2 separate regions of the Homo sapiens genome follow, and region 2 is linked to region 1. Evidence: promoter capture Hi-C in 16 types of primary human blood cells and fetal thymus (Javierre and others, 2016). All regions are on one chromosome and are shown on one strand. The core of a region is centred on a gene start or on the middle of the fragment in contact, and the rest is flanking DNA. Distances in the headings are between cores, read along the strand shown.

The links. Contacts are between HindIII fragments. The CHiCAGO score rates a contact against its expected background, and 5 or more counts as called.
Region 2: a contact is called between a fragment that was not itself captured here and the fragment with the promoter of PRAC1 in region 1, in 1 of 17 cell types (M2 macrophages). The highest score is 5.3, in M2 macrophages.

What each region holds. Positions count from the first base shown.
Region 1 is chr17:48,718,974-48,723,862 of GRCh38, forward strand. PRAC1 (PRAC1 small nuclear protein) reads right to left here and starts at 3,545. Exons shown (of 2, transcript NM_032391.3): 1 at 3,345-3,545; 2 at 2,746-2,926. The coding sequence starts at 3,419. The coding sequence ends at 2,828. PRAC2 (PRAC2 small nuclear protein) reads left to right here and starts at 4,212. Exons shown (of 2, transcript NM_001282275.2): 1 at 4,212-4,340. RefSeq lists enhancers at 3,491-4,005, 4,006-4,521. The HindIII fragment of the contact is 8,116 bases long and covers 1-4,889 here.
Region 2 is chr17:48,289,772-48,296,526 of GRCh38, forward strand. All of the region lies in intron 4 of SKAP1 (src kinase associated phosphoprotein 1), which reads right to left. It overlaps SKAP1-AS2 (SKAP1 antisense RNA 2), which reads left to right and starts at 4,576. Exons shown (of 2, transcript NR_131240.1): 1 at 4,576-4,744. The HindIII fragment of the contact is 629 bases long and covers 2,903-3,531 here.

The DNA of each region.
Region 1 (4,889 bases), core at 2,295-4,794:
TATCTTATTAGCCGGTGTCGCTGAGCCGCGGGGGACTCCCGGCTGGAAAGGAAGCCCTGCGCTCGAAGCGCCCCACGCCAGACGGAGTGGCCCCTGCGCCTCCCCGCGCGCCGGCGCGCCCTGTTCACCTTCGACTGGATGTTACCGAGCCAGGGAGAGACCCGGAGATCGAGTGTTTGATCTTCCCTTGCTCCAGGATCCTGAATTCTTTAAACACACTCGCACGCGCTCGCACACAAACACACACACACACACACACACACACACACACGCACACGCAGCACTACTACCGTCTGAGCAGGCCGCTCCTCGCAGCCTCCGCAGTCGGCGGGTCGCCTGGAAAGACGCGCCGGTTTCCCGGGTCGGATGGCTCTCCAGGCCGCTATTTCCTCCGCCACCGAGTAGGGAGACGCCCCATTTGCGAAGTTTAAGTTTCCAGGTCCTGGGAAGGCAGCTGGGAAACCCGCGGGGCTCGGCAGCCGCCCTGGTAGCAGCCAGGGATCGGATAGCGCGGCGGGCGACAGCCCCCCGGATAACCCCGCCGAGGGAGGGGCGCTTGTAAAACCGAGCGGCGACGGCCTCGTTACGACCGACTCGAACATTCTCTAATAAATCATCGGCCTTAGCTAGTATTCGTTTGTGTACGCATCTGTTTATCCTGATTATTAAAATAAATTAAGGATTAGACTGCCTAGAATAAGGTAAACGAACATGAAATGCCAAGGAGGAAAACAGAAAAAGTTACACCATGTCGATCCCGACCAAAACATTGGCCTGACTTGCCGGATGGCCTCAAGAATCCGGCTTTTAGCTGCAGGCCCGGCGGGTGTTCCCCGGAAGGCAAGGATTGGAAGCTCTTTGATAAAGCCGCGCGAGGCCCGGTTTCTCGCGTTTCGGGTCGCTCCACAGCCCCCTCCGCCCTTCCCCTCCACCCCTCCGCGTCTCGGCCTGGCTCCGGAGGGGTGAAGGAATGTTTATAGCCTGACTCAAGTTCAATGACAAAAACCTGCCTGGAATGGGAGGTGCGGCGAGCTTCAGCCATCAACATGACAAAGGCTGGACGCAGGTCTCGGGCGGGGGCGACGGGCTGGGCCCACCTAGAGATGGGGAGCTGAGGGCCCACAGGATGGGTACGGACCCCGCAGACCAAGAGCTGCCTCTCTGCCCTCAGCCTGGGGTCTGCGGAGTTTGGCGAGTAGTGCGGGTGTGTGCCCGCCTGGATGAGGGTAAGGCGATCAGCCTCTGAGTGGGCAAGGGGACGTCTGATTACTGCCCAGGCTTCGCCTGGGGGTCCAGGACCCTGTGAGATGCCCCTGCTCTCTGCCTGGCCAGCTCTAGCTCACCCGGAGTAAGGATCCGCACCGTCCTTCTATCCACCGCGACCTGCATTTTCTGGCCTCCTCCGAGTTTTGTTCACATCTTCCCTCCCGGATTTGATATTCCAAGCATCTTCTCCAGGGAAGACTCCCAGAAGCCTTGCTTGTCTGTGTGTGTGTGTATCTTTCTCTTTCCCTGTTCCCCGTCCTGTTCCCCATTTGTTCTGATTGTAGTCATTTGGTCATGGAATAAAATCCTCTGGCCTCAGGTCACATATGGGGAAGCTGCAGACCCAAGATTTACCAGCATAGGAGTCAGGCCTGGTGGGAAGGGAGAGCATATTTCCAACTCTTTCCTCCTGTCTTCCACCCCTAGTGGAAGATTTTGCATACTCAATTAATGAGTAGTTGGTTGACAAAAATGTCCACACGTGTTTAATCCCCTGTTTGCATATATGCAGATCTGTCCAGTGCCTGAGGAGGGGCTGGGTCTAGGGTGTTTGGGTGCACCTGTGTGATCTCAGCTGGGTGACTCCGGATGGAAGCAGGTGCTTGTTAGTGTCTGAAGGGCCTTGCAGGGAGAGGTATGTTGACAATAGAGGAGTCCCTGGGCTTTCTATTTTTTCAGTTGGTGGTAGAGGTTAAGCGCTCCTGTTTTGGGACCCAGATCAAGTAACTTACCCTCTTAGTTTCAATTTCTTTAGGTTATAAAGTGCTCACTCAATTGTGGGTTTTGTCATTATGGGAGGGGGAACTGGCAGGGAAGGAGCCAGCTGTGGGGAGAAGAGAGTTAGGTGAGTCCTGAGTGTTTTTGTGGATTACTGTGCCCACCCCAAGACCAATGACTTGGCAATATCAGTGGTTGGCTGAAGATGTGAGCATGTGGTCCCCAGCCTGCTTCTGTACTGGACCCAGAGCCCCTGTGCGCACACATGCCTGCTGTGGCATTGATCCCACACTTGGCAAGGCAGAGCTTCTGAGAGGGTGCAGGAAAGGGAATAAGGAAGCCAGGGGCCCAGAGAAAAAGGTGCAATTATTATTATTATTATTATTTGTCACAGAGTCTCACTCTGTCACATAGGCTGGAGTGCAATGGCATAATCTCAGCTCACTGCAACCTCCACCTCCCAGGTTCGAGCAATTCTTGTGCTTCAGCCTCTTGAGTAGCTGGAATTACAGGTGTGAGCCACCATGCCCAGCTAATTGTTGTATTTTTAGTAGAGACAGTTTTCACTATGTTGGCCAGGCTGATCTCAAACTCTTGGCCTCAAGTTATCTGCCCACTTCAGCCTCCCAAAGTGCTGGGATTACAGCCATGAGCCACTATGCCTGGCCCGTTTTTATTTTTTTAAGGCCCAGAGCTTTTGCCTTAAGGATGAGTTAGTTTAAAAAAGAAAAATTGTTATAATCACAGTTAACTTTCACCCAGTTTCCTTTTTTAAAAAAATTTTATTGTATAAATAGAGACAGCGTCTTGCTACATTGCCCAGGCTGGTCTGGAACTCCTGTGCTCAAGGAATCTTCCTGCCTCGGCCTCCCGAAATTCCAGAATTACAGGCTGAGCCATCACTCCTGGTCTCGCCCAGTAGATGTTTCAAAGTAGATGTTTTCTAAAATATTTTACAATATTTACAAATTTTAAATAATAATAACGTTATCAATATTAATTTTGCTTATGCCAGGACTCCATCCCATTGGAGACAAACATTAAGTCTTATGGCAGACCTTACAGCGGGTGCTAGTTCCCACTCCCAAGCCTCTCCCCCGCCTAGGTCCTGCAGGTCCCGCGTGCTGCGAAACATTTTCTTTGTCCCTTTCTGCCCAGGGCGGCTGCCGGTCTCTCCAGGAACCGCGAGTAGGTGCTCCCGCCAGGTGGTATCGGTGAAAGCCTGCTGCTCACCCTTCCCTTGTTTCCCAAAACTTCTGAAGGCTCCCAAATTCCTGGGAGACCCTCTCCCAGGGCCTCCTGATGCAGCTACCATACTGAGCGATCCGTCGATAACGCCCTTGGCCCACCGATCAGTTTACCTTATTAGAGAGAAAAGCACTCTTGGAGGTAGTAAGATGGGCCGGTCCTTGATCTGAGAAATGGGCGCACAACATCGCTGTTCTCTCTGCAAAGGTGGGGACCAGAATCCAGCTTGCCTGACCTTGCAAGCAAGCATCGGCCTAAAGGTTTCAGCCTCCCAGTGGCGCTCTGTTTGCACGCCTTAGGCTAGGAGAGGAAGGACGGGAGCACAGCACTGGGTGCCCCTCTCCCTGTAGAGTCTGGGGCGGGGCTCAGTAAGAAGGCCTGCGGTTGGTGGCTCCCCACCTCATAGCTGCAAGTAGGGGCGAAAGCTGGAGTGTCTCCTCCCAGCAGCCTCCTCGCCTCCCCGCAAACCTCCGAATCTCCCTGGACCTCCTGGTTGCTGTGGCCCTTCCTCCCCTGATTGGCTTCCTCCCTCTTTCCCAAGGCCAGAGAAGTCCTCTCTTCCCCTCACCTTCCTCCCTCTTCCCATAAAACTTTTAGGAAAATGGGGGCGGGGGCGGTGGAGACCACCAGCCTGGAACTTCAAGTTCAATGGCAAAGTCCCTGACCCTCCCCCCAGGCTGGGCGCCAGCATTATTCTAGGGGCGATTAAACTCTTTTGCTGCCCCCTGTGCACCTCCCAGTTCGGGGGCAGTTTAGGGGAGGAGAGAAGGTAATGGTGGAATTCTTTCCCTCACTCTCCCCCGACCACTTCGTCCCCTCCCCCTCATCCCCTCTACACAGAACTAACTGGTAGGGAGAGAGGAAGAAAGGCTGGCATCGGTTCCTCATTGGATGTTTTAAATCTGTCTCAGGCCCAGGCCAGTGCCTGGGGGGAGGGGCGGGGTGTCCTGCTTTTGGGCTAGAGGCCCGGGGCCGCTCCCGAGCTTTCTCCCCTCTTCCCTGGAGAGCGACTGTTCGGGAGGGTGAGAATGGTATAAATTTCAAAAACAACGAAACCTTCTTTTGCCCCCTCCGCAGCAGTCGCCTCCGGGCTTTATTGCAAGTTTACGGTAACGAGTTCATCTATTTAATTCGCGGTTGCAGCTCGGGGATTTCTATTAGACAGGACGGGTTGGGGCCGGGGGGCACAGGGTCTCCCCTGAAGGAAACCCAATTAGAGTGCAGCACTTAGCACCTTCAATATAACTTTAATGAAGGGGGGGAGGGGAGCTGCAGGGAAGAGAAGTTTGCTCTAGGTTGGGGAAGGAAAGCTGGAGCTGCTCCCGAGAACTGGGGGGCCTGGATGAGGCTTTTTCCTGCTTCGAGGGCTTTCCAGCTTCCGGCCCGGGAACTACTATTTGGAGTAGGGATCGCCTGCAGGGAAGGCGGGGCGGATTCTCGGCTGGCGGCGGCCTCGCAGGGTTCCCGGAAGCGCTAGCCAGCCGGAGTAAAACCCGAAAGATGGAGCCTCAGGTTCGCGCTCTGCGTTGCGGGTGCTGGAACCGAGATTCAAAAAGAGCTTCCGGAGGTAGTTTCTACGCATTGCGCCACTACTCCCTTATTCGGCTTCTGGAGGCCTAATAAAATCCACTTGCTTTGGAGTTAGAAATTATTTCGGG
Region 2 (6,755 bases), core at 1,967-4,466, 430 kb before region 1:
AGTATATATATATATTTAAAAATTAATATTTAATCAAAAGTAAGCCTGAATGAAGACTACGTCATATTACAAAATGAATTTTATTTTTTCATCTAAACTAAAGGAGTATTTCAGAACATGTACCATGTTTCACCTAAAGAGTGGCTGCAGTTATATAATAAACTACATCTGCTGAAGAACTGAACATTAGTTTAAAATCCAGGAGTTAAGCAGTCAATAGTACCCTGAAGTGGGTGATGGAAATATTCTCAGAATTAGTATGAATTTTATTATTAAGGGACAGATGGATTTATAAGATCTCAAAATTTTGAGGCACATTCTCTATTTTAGATACTTGAAAAATCTGTTTCATATGTTTGGATATCAAAGTCCACTAAATCTACTATGATAACAATTCGTCTATGAGGCCAGTTTCATGTCCTTGATGATTAGAAACTAAACATGGGTTACAAGGTAGAGAAAGGGGCAATTCAAGAATTATTTGTAACTAAAGATGGTATGTTTTTTAATGTTATTATCAGAGGAAAGAAACAAAACCATTAAAAAATTATGTAACATTATTAAATTTAATTCAAGCCAATAATCTAAGCTTACACTGAACACTCATTCCAACTATTTAACCCTGGCTGCTGAGCTGAGGCTATAACAGCAGGTGGGTTATCAGACAATGCACTAGAATTTCACAAGATCGATTAAGTCAGAAGATAAACAAGAACTTCCCCAGCCTCTTTTATTCTTCCCGGATAATCTGTTTTATGTTCTTGAGGAAGGAAAGGCAAATCTTAAGCTTTACACTGTACCTTAGCACACTTTGTCTCTCTTCCCTATTTTATTTCTCACATAGTTTACATTACATCATGTCATTTCATTTATTGCCCCCTGAGGAATGCAAACTATGTGAAGGCAGGGTTTTCCACTGACATATCTCCAGTGCCTAGAACAGTACCTGGCACATAGTAGGTGCCCAGTAAATATCTGTTGAATAAATGAATGAGATTTCTGTAACTGGATAATTAGGGTTAGCAGAAGTCAATTTTAAATATTCAAAGAAAAGAAAAATATTTTACAAAAAATTAAAGACACTTCTGACCTGGTGTGGTGACTCACACCTGTAATCTCAACACTTTGGGAGGCAAAGGCAGGAGGGTCGCTTGAGGCCAGGAGTTTGAGACCAGCCTGGGCAACATGGTGAGAATGTTTCAAAAGACAAAAAATTAGCTGGCTGTGGTGGCATGCGCCTGTAATCCCAGCTACTCAGGAGGCTGAGGCAGGAGGGGTTTGAGGCTGCAATGAGTTATGATGGCACCACTGCACTCCAGCCTGGGTGACAGAGTAGACCCTGTCTTAAACAAAAACAAAAACAAAAACAAAATCATAAACTTTTGCTCAGAACTTGCATTTCTCTAACTTTGCAAGCACAAATTTTTATACCTGTTGACCACCTTCATGGGGTTACTTTGAAAATAGTAATTACTAAAGCCCACTTCACTGAAAATTTGAGAGTTAATTTTTAAAATTTCTGAATTTTGGGGCCACTGGTGCTGGAAAAAAAAATTACTCTCTCTGTTCTCTTTCTTGTAAAAAATTCAGTGCTAACCCACACAAATCCAGACAGCTGCCTCATCTATTCTGCTTCATCTATTCTCTTGCTGAGGACATTCTATATTCTTAGGTTCCTATTGAACAACAGCACCATTCTGAAAAATTTGCGTACTGGCAATCAAATCATTCTGCAAACAGTAACGCAGATTCCAATGATAAGATGAGTGAGCAGGATGCAAGAACATCTTAAAGATCACCTGCCACACTTGTGTTTGAGGTGCTCAATGGCTGTTTACACCAAGTGCCATCTGGCTCTATAGATATAATAACAATTATTCCATTGAGGTGTGTAGCTCCCTAAATCATATTAATATACAATGATTCCGCTAGTCTTATAGGAGTTGATGTCTTTGTGCGCTCTCATTTAACCTGGGTAATGCGCTAAAACAAGTCTGCCTCATCATTAAGAATTGATTTTTTATTTATGTGAATGTCACTGGCAATCCCATGATATCCCTTTGTAATTCAGTTGAACAGGACTGCATACTAGCGTTAATCTATTTTTATGGCATATCTTTAAAAATTTGCAACATCTTGCTACATTTGGATATTTATATAGAGATTTGTGTTCCTGCAGAAAGCTGTTGTTAGCTTTGGAGATCCACTTCATATAGCAATAGGGCAAGTATCTAATATACTTCATTAGCTATCTTATATCAGATAAGGGTTTATTTCTTTAAATTATTTAACCTTGGTATAACCTACTAAAATCACATAAATCACAAATACACTAATGAAAATCATTAGTTTAGCCTATTCAAAAAAAAAAAAAAGAAAGAAAGAAAGAAAAGAAAAAAGAAAACTTCCAACAGGGATAAAATTAAAACATTTTAAAATCAGCCCTCTGGAAGCATTTCATGAAAGTAACTTGGTGAATTTGTCATGATCACTCATTTCTTAATGTTGTCATTGGTCAATCGTTTAGTCATTGATGTTAACAACTATTCTGATGTGCTAACATTTGTAAAAAAAACCAAAAAAACAAAAACACATCGCTTTTTTTCTGGCTGATTCAAAATCTGATTTTAAAAGTCATAGTTACAACTATTTATAAATATGCCTTCATGAGTTTTGCTAATTTAAAATGAGATAAACACAATAAGCAACAATAAAAAGAAAAAATACATATTTTAAGATACCAAGAAAAAATACTACATCACAAAATTATACTTTAAATCTAGTCTTCCCAACAGTATTTACAAGATTATTAAATAATTACCTTATGGGGAAGTTCTGTCAGAACACCTCTCATATTTGGATGAGTATTATAGACTTTGAACCTGTTCATAAAGCAATAGCAAGCTTCTTCAGAAAGTCACTGAATTTTGGGCATGGGGAGATATGGTAAGTTATACTGCAGGTCTTGACCATTTCATGCTGCTGCTTTAAAGGCAGAATTACTCTTATGCTGTTGAATTTATCATACACAATTACTGATACTGCAACTCATAAGGAAGTTAAGCAAAGTTTCAGAACAAATAAATGAGGTAACAATTTTTCAAATCTAAAGGATTTTGAAGAGGATTGTCACTGCAAACTATAAACTACTGTAAGATTCTTGGTCTAGAACAATCTCTTGTGGATTATTTAGACAATTTTTAAAAAAGCACACTGGGGCAAGTTCATTTTTCTAACTTGAAAATATACGTCGTAAAACTTAATTAAAGGCTCAAACTTAAGAAAGACACATTCATAAAAAATCTACATTTGAGTTAGATTGTGAAATCTATGTAGTTTTCAATATAATATATTAATATCTGTAATCCTTAAGCTGTAATTTTTACAAATATGTTTTCCAAGAGCTGCATAAATTAACTTCTTTATGTATTGTATATGTTATAAATAACTAGAAGGAATTACGTACTTTTATATTCAATAAATAAATACATTTAAAGCTCAGATACTTTCACTAAAATAGATCCACAAAGAAGCTTGGAATGTTCTTCTGTGGTCTTCAGAACTATGTGTGGTGAGCAATTATCAGGAATAATACATGTGTCTGTTTTTGAATTCAGTAAGCCTTCTAAACATTATTTTAAAACTACTCCACAGAGATGATAAAAGGTGTATTAATCACCTAAATGCCTATAAATTGAGATTTAAGGTCAGAGATATTCCCTTAGTTTACTTAAGATATTCCTTGGATATCCCTTAGATATTTCCCTAGTTGTCCCACACGGGCTTGCTTGATCACACATCATATCCTGGTACATACGAGGTTCTGAGTTAGCACTGTGGAATTGGTGTACAAGGCTTACAAGTCAGCTTTTAAAACGTAATAATGATAGCATCTATAATACTATTCTAGTGATTCTATGCTTTTCTTTTTGTTAAAATCATCCCTTATTTTAGGAATAAGCTAAGTAAAGAGGGAACATGGAGTCAGACTGAAATCTACTTCAGGGCTCACCTTTGTCGGATGAACAGTGAACGCTCTGACATTGACATTCACAGCAGCATTGCTGCCGGGTATTGCTATAATTTGCTCTCTATGATTGTTCCTTTAAACAAAAAGCTCTGCGCTCAGCATGCAAAGAAGTTAGAAGTGCGGGAAGGAGGGGGAACCACACATATAAGAGGAGAGAGAGGAAAAAACTGCAGATCAATCATTTATAATTAACAAAAATCCGATTGGTGCTTTAAATAGAGATCAATGTGTTCCAGGCTGCCTGGATTGTGGGGATGTATTCACCTTCTGGTAACTCTCCAAGCAAGCTGTCACACCTACAGAATCACCATTTGTTTTCTTAACAAAGCTTCAGGGGGCGCCAGGCTCTCATTGAAATTTCATTAATCTAATGGAGTAAAGTCCTATAGAAAAAAATCAAATTCTCGTTGGACGAGATGCTACCTGGGAAAGATAACCTCTGTTTGAACTCTCAGACTCGGATCTCTCTGCTATTAGTCTGAGGAAACAGACAGCAACAACGCTGATTACAGCCACCGGCCTCAACAATTTTTTTTTCTAACTAGCAATTTCGAGTGCAAGTGCCACAGTGTCAGCTAAAGAAACACAACTGCGGGTTTTCTGCAGAGCAAAATGGTTCTGAAATGTCACTGAATAGCTCACAAAGGACGCCAATCTACGACAACAGAGACATAAGCATATAGGAGAAAGGGTCCACACATCCTCCTTTCAAAGGTATGTTGTTTACATGCATGTAATTTGTGAAACCCACAGCTATTCAATTCAGGGTTTTCGCAGAAGTCTAAACCAAAATCTGTGTAGAAAGCAATTATCAAGATTCCTCCAAAAGTCACAGAAATTTGGGTGTGGGGAAATTATGACATGTTATACACATAAATAGATGCCCTACATAGTACATGACCTATATAGTATAGTCTTCAAGTTCCCAAGACATCAATTATGGCTGTTACGTGGTGATGATACTTCAGCATCACCTCCATGTGATTTGACTCACAAGTTTTCAAAAGTGGCCTAAATCTGGACATGTCAATATATAGTAGCAACAGTTACTTTGAGAGGAAAATATGGAATGTTGATTCCTTAAAGTTCTTTCCAGGAATGTCCCCATGGCTCATCTGACACATGGTAAGGGTATATGATGGTACACCTATGTGACAAAAAGAGCCAGCATGACAAAGGCTGCATCTATGCCAAAGTAAAATAGCTTTTGGTACTGCTTATTTTTTCCCAACTTAAATGGCTATTTGTAAAAATTTAAATGACTAACAGACCAGTAGTTTTAGGCACAAAAGTCTAAAACAGAGAATGAAACAACCTGTAGAAAGCCCTCTGCTAGACTCTTATATGATCACTATGTTTTGCACGAAGCAACTGGGCAAAGGAAGTTGACTTCAATCGGGCAAGATCACAGTCAAGTTCAGCACTGCTTTCTGATTCCATAGACGTCTAAATCTGGAAGTGACAGTGCAAACCTTACTTGTGTTAAGGAAGAAGACTTATTGTACTTTAAACTAAAAAGAGAAACTAGTAATTTGAACATAAACTACAACTTGTATTTCCTTTCTTTTTAAAGCAGGGACCTAAAAATTGTAGCATATGATAAGGAGAAAAAAGTCATACTTTGAAAAAAGAAAAGGAAGGTCATGACATCCTAGGCAAGCAATTGAAAGGATTCAAAAAATTCTGAGTCCATCTTTAAAGATACTTTTTTTCTTTTACAATAAGCTTGCCGTTTTTCACCTAGGTCACAGAAAGCTTGCTGCAGATCAGGAAATGTCTTCAGTTTCCAAAGCCTCTCATAGCAGTGAGTCACTTCCTCTTTTTTTTTTTTTTCCATTTTCGCTGTTTATGGGTAAACATTGCTCTATTTGGATATATTTAATATTTTTGTGTCTGGCACAAATTTATCCATAAGGATCTAGCTTCTTTTCATACGTAATTCCTTTAATTTCCTGTCTGAGATCCACCTGTAGAATTATACTTCCGGTCTCCATCTACATCCTGTTTAAAGATATCACCGAGAGTGATATACCAATTTTTTAAAATTCTAAGCATTAGGAAAATGAGTACATAACACATTTATGTGTCTATGTGTATATACTATTTATGTAAACATATAATATATGCAAAACATATATGCATATACACATACGATATATGCAAATCTGTATATAGAAAAACTTAGTTTACTCAAGATTATTAAAATTGATCCTGGGAACAAAACAATACACCTTTTCTAGGCATTTATCCCTACTATAGAGACAGAGAAAGAAAGATTGTGAGAGGGAGACACACACATTCAGATGAGCCTTCAGGGAATTGTATGAACTTTTGAACCAGAGATGGAGAGCCAGAGCCCAGCCTGTTCCCACTTTAATAAACATTTTTTTCTTCAATTAATTAAGGTTTGGAAAGAAAAAAAAACCACAGAAGAGAAGTAATTTAGCATGCAATGCATACTTTACAGATGGATCCTACCTTCGGATGCTTATTAAATCTATGCATGACTGCGCTGGAGAAAATTAATTGCATTGTTTCTCACTATTGGAAAATAGGTTGCAAACAGCTCAAAAATAAAAAGGAAAATGAAGCAAGGTGGTTGTTGTTGTTTAAAAAAACAGCTATAGTATAAAAGAAATACTTTCAAAGTCCTAAAACAAGTAATACCCACGACTGGCATAAGAGCATAGATTTCTTTAAAATTGTTTTGATGTTTCAAAATACC